Linked DNA regions of Homo sapiens: region 2 is linked to region 1. The links are contacts of gene promoters, found by promoter capture Hi-C in blood cells and fetal thymus (Javierre and others, 2016). All regions are on one chromosome and are shown on one strand. The core of a region is centred on a gene start or on the middle of the fragment in contact, and the rest is flanking DNA. Distances in the headings are between cores, read along the strand shown. Region 1 overlaps C1RL-AS1 (C1RL antisense RNA 1). Region 2 holds the start of TNFRSF1A (TNF receptor superfamily member 1A).

Region 1 (4,206 bases), core at 58-2,557:
TGTGAGTTATGGCTGCTGCCTTCAATCAGCCATGTCTCTTCCTCCCCGACCTTTCCGTTCACGACATACCCGGGGAGCCTCCCTCTTGTAGAATTGAAGTTTGTGATCCTTGAACTTGAGCTTTCTCTTCCTTTCCCTCCTCCCCAAGCAGGGGTGGGGGACATGCGCTTAGGTGGTCTTTTGAATCCTATTCACAACCTCTGGAGGCTGCTTGTCCAGCATGGTCAGGGCTGGGGTCGAGCCCAGGTGTCCCTCAGTCCCTAGTCCCAGTCATCACTCAAGCCGTCACTCAAGCTTCTTTAGGCAGATACTAGAGCCCCTGCCTGCTCTCACCGCTCCCCGAGGAAGGACACTCACCCACAGCTTGGTAGGAGGCCAGAAGGCTCTTATGGAGATGGGTGGTCCCATCCTCAGAGAAGGCAGGTGTGTGGAAGGCCTTACGTTGTATGCACACACAAATGCATGTGCGCGCGCACACACACCTCTCAGAGAAGAATCTATTGCTTCCCCCATTTTGCATATAGTAATATGGAGGCAAGTTACAGACCCAAACAGGGTGTGCTCTGCATCTTTGGTTTTTCTAGGCTAGAGAGATTTAGGAGAGCCACAGTCTATGGCTACAAGGAGATGATAAGAGAGTGATGGCCAGGACAGATGCAATGTCTCAGGTACAGTCTTGAGATCAAGCCTACCTGTCTGCCACACCCCAACCCCAAACACAACTGGGGATGATCTCCCATACCCATCTTCGAGGAGTGGGCCTCTCTGACTAGGACTTCTTTCCTCCCCTGAGACCACTGAAACCTGCTCTCTCATAGAACTCTTAGGGTCACCTGGAGCACCTTGGGAGCCAGAGATGCAGCCAAAGAGTGAACAATGGTACCAATCCCAAGACCCATGTGTTAAGAAGAAACCAGCCAAGACTCAGATCAGGATTGGGGAGTCCACCCCTCGTTTCCCTTCAGAGCATTATTTCCTTGTTTGCTAAGAGGGGCAGGAACTGGAAAACTCAGGCTAGCCCATCTGAGAAGACTTTCCTGGAGATGAGCTGGAGGAGGGAGGAGTAAGGCCTTGGAAGGAAACTCCAGGACAGGTAGGGTGACCGACTGTTCTGATTTGCGTGGGACCGACGGGTTTCCCAGGACATGAGGCTTTCCGTTTTAAAATGAGGGAAGTTCTGGGCAAGCCAGGACTGGTGGTCACCCTAAATGGATAGGGGTTAAAGTGCTGGAGTGAGGCTGGGTGAGAAAGAGGACAGGGAGCCAAGAGGGTGGGGAGGCAGTGATGCACCGGCAGCCCCAGGTGACTGGGCAGTCCAGGGTCTGGATGTGGTCCCTGTTTGGGGTAATCCAGCACTCTGAAGATGAGGGCCCACCTTGGTCTCACCTAGGTGGCGTGTGCGGCTGCAGCATGAGTTAGGGTCAAGGGCAAGGGGAGGAATGGCTGGTGATGTGAGACTGGAGAAGGAGCTGATGGCTCTGTGCATAGCTGGTCACTGCAGGCCCCTGTGGGCTAGGGCTGAGCTGTGCCCCGCTGTGTTTTCAGCACCACCTCCCCTACACTGGGACCTCGTCTCTAACTGGCAGAGTGGTCAATGAAAAAAAGGGCATGCCTTGGCACATCATGGTCAAACTGCTAAAAGCCAAAGACAAGAGAAAATCTTTTCTTTTTTTTAATCCCATCCTAAAGACTAGACAGAACAATATTTTCAATGTCACTCTTTTCTCATCAAAACCAATATAGACCAGAAGACAGTGGAATATCTCTAAAATGCTGAAGGAAAAAAAAAGTCAACTCAGAATTGTTTTTCTAGTGAAAGTATTCTTCCAGAATGAAGATGAAATAAAGCTATTTTCAGATAAAAGAAAACAGAGATTCTTGTCGCCAGCAGACCTCCACTATGAGAAGCGCTAAAGAAAGTTCTTTAGGACGGGCACGATAGCTCACGCCTATAATCCCAGCATTTTGGGAGGCCAAGGTGGGAGGATTGCTTGAGCTCGGAAGATGGAGGCTGCAGTGAGCCATGACGGTGCCACTGCACTCCAGCTTGGGTGACAGAGTGAGACGCTGTCTCAAATTGGAAGAGCAGAGCTGCAGACAGGAATAAGAAGAACGGTAAATTTGAAGGTAAATATAAAATACGATTTTCTTTTTAATGTCTTTAAAATATGTAGAACTGTTCCAGGCAAAAATTATAACATTGTATTGTGAGGTTTATAACATATGTAGCTGTAACATATATGAAGACTGTAGTATAAAGCAGGGGTCCCCAACCCCTGAGCCGTGGACCAGTATTGGAGGTGAGTGGTGGTGAGCAAGCAAAGCTTCATCTGTATTTGTAGCTGCTTCCCATCACTCACATTACCATCTGAACTTCGTCTTCTGTCAGCAGCAGCAGCAGCAGCAGCATTAGATTCTCATAGGGGCACGAACCCTATTGTGAACTATGCATGGAGGGATCTAGGCTGTGTGCTCCTTATGAGAATCTAATGCCTGGTGACCTGTCACTGTCTCCTATCACCCCTAGATGGGACCGTCTAGTTGCAAGAAAACAAGCTCAGGGCTCCCACTGATTCTACATTACGGTGAGTTGTATAATTATTAATATTTCATTATATATTACAATAACAATAATAATAGAAAGAAAACATGCAATGAATGTAATGTGTTTGAACTATCCTGAAACCATCTCCCTCTGGCCCCATCCCTGGTTTGTGGAAAAACCGTTTTCCATGAAGCCAGTCCCTTGTGCCAAAAAGGGTGGGGACTGCTGGTATAGAGGACAAGGGGGTGGACTCATGGTTACAAGTTTCCTTCATTTCACATGAAGTGGTACAATAGGAACTGAGAAAACTGGAGTTTAGGATGCAGACTAATTCCCAGAGCAGCGGGTCTCCACCCTGTGGTGTGGGAAGACCCACAGGCCCTAAGATCCTTTCACGGGGTCTGTGAGGTAACAAAATGACTTTCATAAAAATACTCAGATGTTCTTTGCTTTTTTCCCTCTCATTCTGTCATGGTATATGGTGGATTTACAGAGGCTACGTGATGTGCAATGATTCATCCGTGGCAGTGAGCGGGATGCGTGCTTGTGTATCTTTGTGATTTAAAATGTTCTCAATTTTGATTTCTAGTACAGTGACTATTAATAGATATACCCTACATAAGCCAAAGCTCTCTGGAGTTCTCAATAATTTTTTAAGGGTATAAAGTTTGAGAACAGTTGCCCTAGGGTGACTACTAGTAGAAAAAAGCAAAGAAGTATAGCTGAAAGGCCGATGTAGAAATGAAAATGGATGTCTGAATTTGGGGGGACTTTTTTCTAATAGGGTAACCTATTAGAAATCATCCTGGTCTGTCTAGAAATGAGGTTTTCCTAGGACATGAGGTTTTCAACACTAAAACCAGTTAAGTTCCCCGACACGCCAGGACAGTTGGTCACCTTATTGCTAACACTTCAATCATTTACTTCAGTTCCCTTTCCCTTACCCAAGTGTCCCTAAAGAGCATAGGCCACCTCTGCTCTATGTTAAGGCCCCCAAGTGCAGGTAAGGGAGCTGGGATTCCTGGCATGCTAAGTAAAGGTAGCAAGCTACCAAATTGTAAGGATACTATGTTTACAAATATAGAAAGCACCCGTGAGAAAAATCTAAAATAACTGCTTCCTATTAGAGTATGGGGTTGTGGATGATTTAAACCATGTTTCTCTGTTTAGTAAAACTTCTTTAATATTATTTAATAACTTTGATAGTTACAAAATAAATGTATCTGAAATTATAATTGTGACCAGATGGTCCTTTCTGAGCCAGACAGGATTAGAGAATGAGGGGATGGATCCTTTAATCGGCATCTTTAATCCACATGATTAATGAAGAAGTTTTTGTCCTTGCATATAAACTTAGGCCAGGCATGGGTCTTTCCAATCTTAGCTGGGCAAACAAGGTTGGGGTGCTCCAGTGACTTTATTTTTGGTTTTATTTTTGAAAATCGTGTTGGTGCTGCCCCCTTCTGTCCTGAAAGGGGAAGGGCAGGACAACAGAAAGTGCCTTGGGGCTTCCTGGCCAGGGAGTTTCTCTGCAGCCTTCATGAGCCCCCAGCATTTAGAGAGGAGCTTGCCCTCTCCTGGAATCCAAACAGCCACAGGAGAGCCCAGGCAGAGGAGTCTGGGGCAGCACGAGCCATTTCTGTCCACAGCTTCCCTGTCTT
Region 2 (4,206 bases), core at 430-2,929, 770 kb before region 1:
TGAGGGAGCCAGGGGCCGCCCCCAAACAGAAAACAGAAGCAGGATGTCAGGGCAGCTGGCTGGTGGGGAGACCGTGGGGGAAGGACAGTGGGAAGAAGGGAAGAGCGGGTGGGACTAAGGAGGCAGGAGGAGGCAGAAGAAGAAGAGTGAGACCCTGACCAGAGACGTGCTGCCTGGGGACCTGGGGCCGGGACCAGAGCGGAGCAGAGAGGAGGGGAAGGAGGATTAGCGAGAAAAGATTTCAAAAAAAGAGGCTCTGAGAAGTCTGAGGAGAGTCTGGGGAGATTGCTGGAAGAAAGGAATGGTAGGAGAGGAAGAGTATAAGGCACTAAAGAGAGGGGAGGTAGGCGCAGCCTTCAGAGGCCGGGCAGGGCAGGGAAAATCTGCCTGACTAGATGGGCCCAGGACATCTGAACAGGATGATTCCCGGACCAAGACGTGGAGGACGATCAAGGATACATTGAAACAAGGCTGAGGCCAGAGAAAGGGACATTTTCCAGTGACGAAAACAACTTTCTACCAACTTCCCCAAACTGAACTGTAGAATAAGAAACCAAGGGATTGTTGTTTAGGTCTGTGAGAAGCAGCGGGGAGGGGAAGCTGGAGGACAGGCCCAGGGACACTGACCAGGTGGGGGTAGGACTAGCTCCCTGGGAAGGCTCAGTCCCACAGCGGCTACCTGCCTAGCAGCAGGCAAAAGGGTAAAGAATGTCCCCAGGTGAGAGGCCGGGGCTTGGCCAGGGCACTGGGGACACTGTCCACTGGGTTGCCCTGCCCCATCCAGTGTCCCAGCCCATTCTCAAATACCTCCCACCATGAGCATCCCAAACCCACCACACCAGCCCATCCCCACTCCTCAACTCACTCCCCCACTTCACCAGCCGCCAAAATCCTGCCCTACAGGGTGTGCTCCACCAAGTTCCACAGGCAGCCTCGCCTCCCCACGGCCCAACACCCTCCAGGCCAGCCAGCTGACCGGAGGGACAGAATTCAGAACCGTCTGGACTCCCCGAGCACTAATCTTCCTACTCCCACTCCCTTCTTTTCCCCGCCAAATCTGCCCCACCCTGGGCCTATCTCCTGCCCACATTCCCTTGGCCGCCCACAAACTTCCACCGCTGTCAGGGGCCAGGGCTTCCTTTTACTCTCTCCCTTTCAAACTTCTCCCATTCCCCTGCCTCAGCGCAGCCCCTACTCCAAAAGGCGGATGAATGGGGAACCCCACACTGGCAGTGGCTGAGGTTAGGACCTGCAGGCCTGAGGCTGGCGCCAGGACCAGGCCCGGGCAGGAGAGGCTCGGCCCCCTCCCGGAGAGGGCCCACGCCAGCCGGAAGGTGCCTCGCCCACCAGCCCACTCTTCCCTTTGTCCCTGGTCTCACCAGTGGCAGCAGCAGGTCAGGCACGGTGGAGAGGCCCATGCCAGACAGCTATGGCCTCTCACTCCCCCATTTGGGCTCAGGGCAGTGTGGCAGCGGCAGTGCTGGGGCTTCCCGGGACTCGGTCTGTCCAGGACGTCCCAAGTGCCTTGGGGTGACAGTTGAGGGTTGAGACTCGGGCATAGAGATCACGGCCTGGTCCCAGTGATCTTGAACCCCAAAGGCCAGAACTGGAGCCTCAGTCCAGAGAATTCTGAGAAAATTAAAGCAGAGAGGAGGGGAGAGAAGGTGGGAGGGGAAGAGTGAGGCAGTGTTGCAACAGCGGGACAGGAAGAGCTGGAGGAGGAGGCCACAGGAGGCGGGAGGAGGAGGCCCAACGTTCTTTAACTCTTTGTAGTCCAGTCACAAGCACAGGAGTCCCAGATCTGGCTGCCTTGTGCCCCCAACCCACCAATCCGACCACTCCCAACCAAACACCAAGGGGCAATAAGCCCCTTGCCCACATCACTAGCCTTTCCCAGATGGATCACAGCAGTGAAAAGATCCAGAGTCTGGGAGTCAAATTCTCTGGGTTCCAATTCAGAATGCTTAGCTTTTTAGCTAAGAATGTGTCTTGGACACATAAATGAACTTCTCAGACACATAACTGAAACTGTCTGGATCTGTTTTCCAATTTGCAGAGTGGAGATAACCTGTCTCCTGGGGTTCCTGTAAGGATTTGTTCAGATGGGAGAGATATAGATAAGCGTCCGACACATGATAGGTACTCCATGTCCCTTAGTAATCCTCCCCTTTACTCCAGAGTTCTTCACTAGCCTCCTAGTCTCCCTCTTTCTTGGGAATTTACTGATCCAATCCAAAACTCAAAGTAAGTCCCAACCCTCGTTTTCTGCCCTGACTGGGTGCCTGCCATTCCTCACCCCAGGTCTCATCCAGTCTCTGCCTGGCCAGGTCCCCCCACCCTGCCCCACTGTTGATCCTGGCTCTGCCACCAATCATGCGACATCAGGCAACTCCTCTCCTAAGCCTCTGTTGGTTCCTTGTTTATTAAACAGGGGTAACAATGTCTGCCCACCTACATGGGGAAAGTGATGCCATGAGAATCAATGAGACGTATCCACGAAGCTGCCGTGGAAATAAAGATACCTCCATCAGGTGTTCCTAGCATATTCCCAGTGCCCTTTTCCTAAATATTCCAATACATCAATTATAACTCACCTTACAGATCATCGACTACAACCCCCTAGGTTTTTTTATTTCTTCGTTTGCTTGTTTTTCATTTTTGTTTTTGTTTTGAGGGTCCGCTCCGTTTCCCAGGCTGGAGTGCAGTGGTACCATCGCAGCTCACTGCAGCCTCGACCTCCCAGGTTCAAGTAATCCTCCCACCTCAGCCTCCCAAGCAGCTGGGACTATAGGTGCATACCACCACGCCTGGGTAATTTTTGTATTTTTTGTAGAGACAGGGTCTCACCATGTTACACAGGCAGGTCTTGAACTCCTGGGCCCAAATGATCTGCCCACCTCAGCCTCCTAAAGTGCTAGGATTACAGGTGTGAGCCACCGTGCCCACCCAACTGCCCGGTTTTATAGAGGAGAAAACTGAGGTCCAGAAACCCAATGTGCCAGGAGGCAGAGCCAACAGAGAACCCCAGACTCCCGACTGCCGGTCCAAGGGCCCCTTTGGCTATGAGAGACACACTGCCACTTTTTCTGTCACTGAGTCAGACCCCACATCCTGACTCTGGTTACTTTATGCCATCCTCATTGATGCAGACATCTCCCAAGAGAATCCTACAACAAAGGTACCACATTTACCCAACTATCTTCTTGGTACAATGACCTTCCCTACATCCAGCCCCGCCCAAGGGCCTGCAGCTGCTGAGGCTGCTAGAAATGCAGGCAGACAGAGAAGAGGGAGGTCCTAGGGCTTTGGAACTTGAAACCAGAGCTCCTCACCCCTTATCCCTCTGAGATGACCTCCCAGCCCCAAGTCCACCGTCCCCTGGCTCTTCCTGGCTTCCCCTCTGTGATCCGCAGATGAGAATGGAGCTTCAGTGTCCCTCACTGCGGGGGGAGCTGACTTTACTCCACCCCATCGTCCAGCTTCTGGAGAACTGTAGGGTTGAAGCTGGATTCAGAAAGGAAGCAGCTCACCACCATCACAAAGGGAGACCCCAGGGACAGGAGAAGCGAACCCAAAGCAGTGTTCTTGAAGAAGCAGGAGCCTCAGAATCAAGTGCAAGTTTCCAGTATGAAGCAGCGAGAAGAACCTCGGTCTGCTCATCTAAAAAATGGGAAACCTGCTGGTACCCTTCACAGAGCTAGCTTGATGCTTAAATCAAGCATATAAAGTGTTTGGCAAGTGTTTGCCATATATTAAGCATTTAGTAAGTGGTAGCAATTAATTTTTTTTTTGAAACAGGAGCTTGCTCTCACCCAGGCTAAAGTGCAATGGTGCAATCATAGCTCACCTAACCTAGAACTACTGGCCTCAAGCTAGCCTCCCACATCAGCCTTCCGAGTGGCTAAGACTACCATCGCACACCACTATGCCCAGCTAGTTGTATTAATGATTAATAACAACTTCAGAAGGATAAGTGATACAGGGGAGTATGGTATGTGAGAGGGCGGCAAAAAAAAAAAAAAAAAGCAGAGTGCGGTGGCTCACGCCTGCAATCCCAGCACTTTGGGAGGCTGAGGTGGGCGGATCACAAGGTCAGGAGTTCGAGACCAACCTGACCAACATGGTGAAACCCTGTCTCTACTAAATATACAAAATTAGCCAGGCGTGGTGGCGCGTGCCTGTAATCCCAGCTACTCAGGAGGCTGA

The links. The method cuts DNA at HindIII sites, captures the fragments that hold promoters and counts their contacts. A CHiCAGO score of 5 or more calls a contact.
Region 2: the fragment with the promoter of TNFRSF1A here is called in contact with a fragment that was not itself captured in region 1 in 5 of 17 cell types (naive CD8 T cells, total CD4 T cells, neutrophils and 2 more); the score reaches 7.5 in naive CD8 T cells.

The regions. Positions count from the first base shown.
Region 1 is chr12:7,109,480-7,113,685 of GRCh38, forward strand. C1RL-AS1 (C1RL antisense RNA 1) reads left to right here. Exons shown (of 12, transcript NR_026947.1): 3 at 585-668; 4 at 819-1,093; 5 at 1,546-2,127; 6 at 2,528-2,585. Among named protein-coding and RNA genes, the nearest start is that of C1RL, 2.4 kb to the left of the region's middle. RefSeq lists an enhancer at 3,788-4,206. The HindIII fragment of the contact is 2,030 bases long and covers 293-2,322 here.
Region 2 is chr12:6,340,397-6,344,602 of GRCh38, forward strand. It overlaps TNFRSF1A (TNF receptor superfamily member 1A), which reads right to left and starts at 1,680. Exons shown (of 10, transcript NM_001065.4): 1 at 1,380-1,680. The coding sequence starts at 1,418. It also overlaps the pseudogene RN7SL391P. RefSeq lists an enhancer at 1,483-1,582. The HindIII fragment of the contact is 11,725 bases long and covers 1-4,206 here.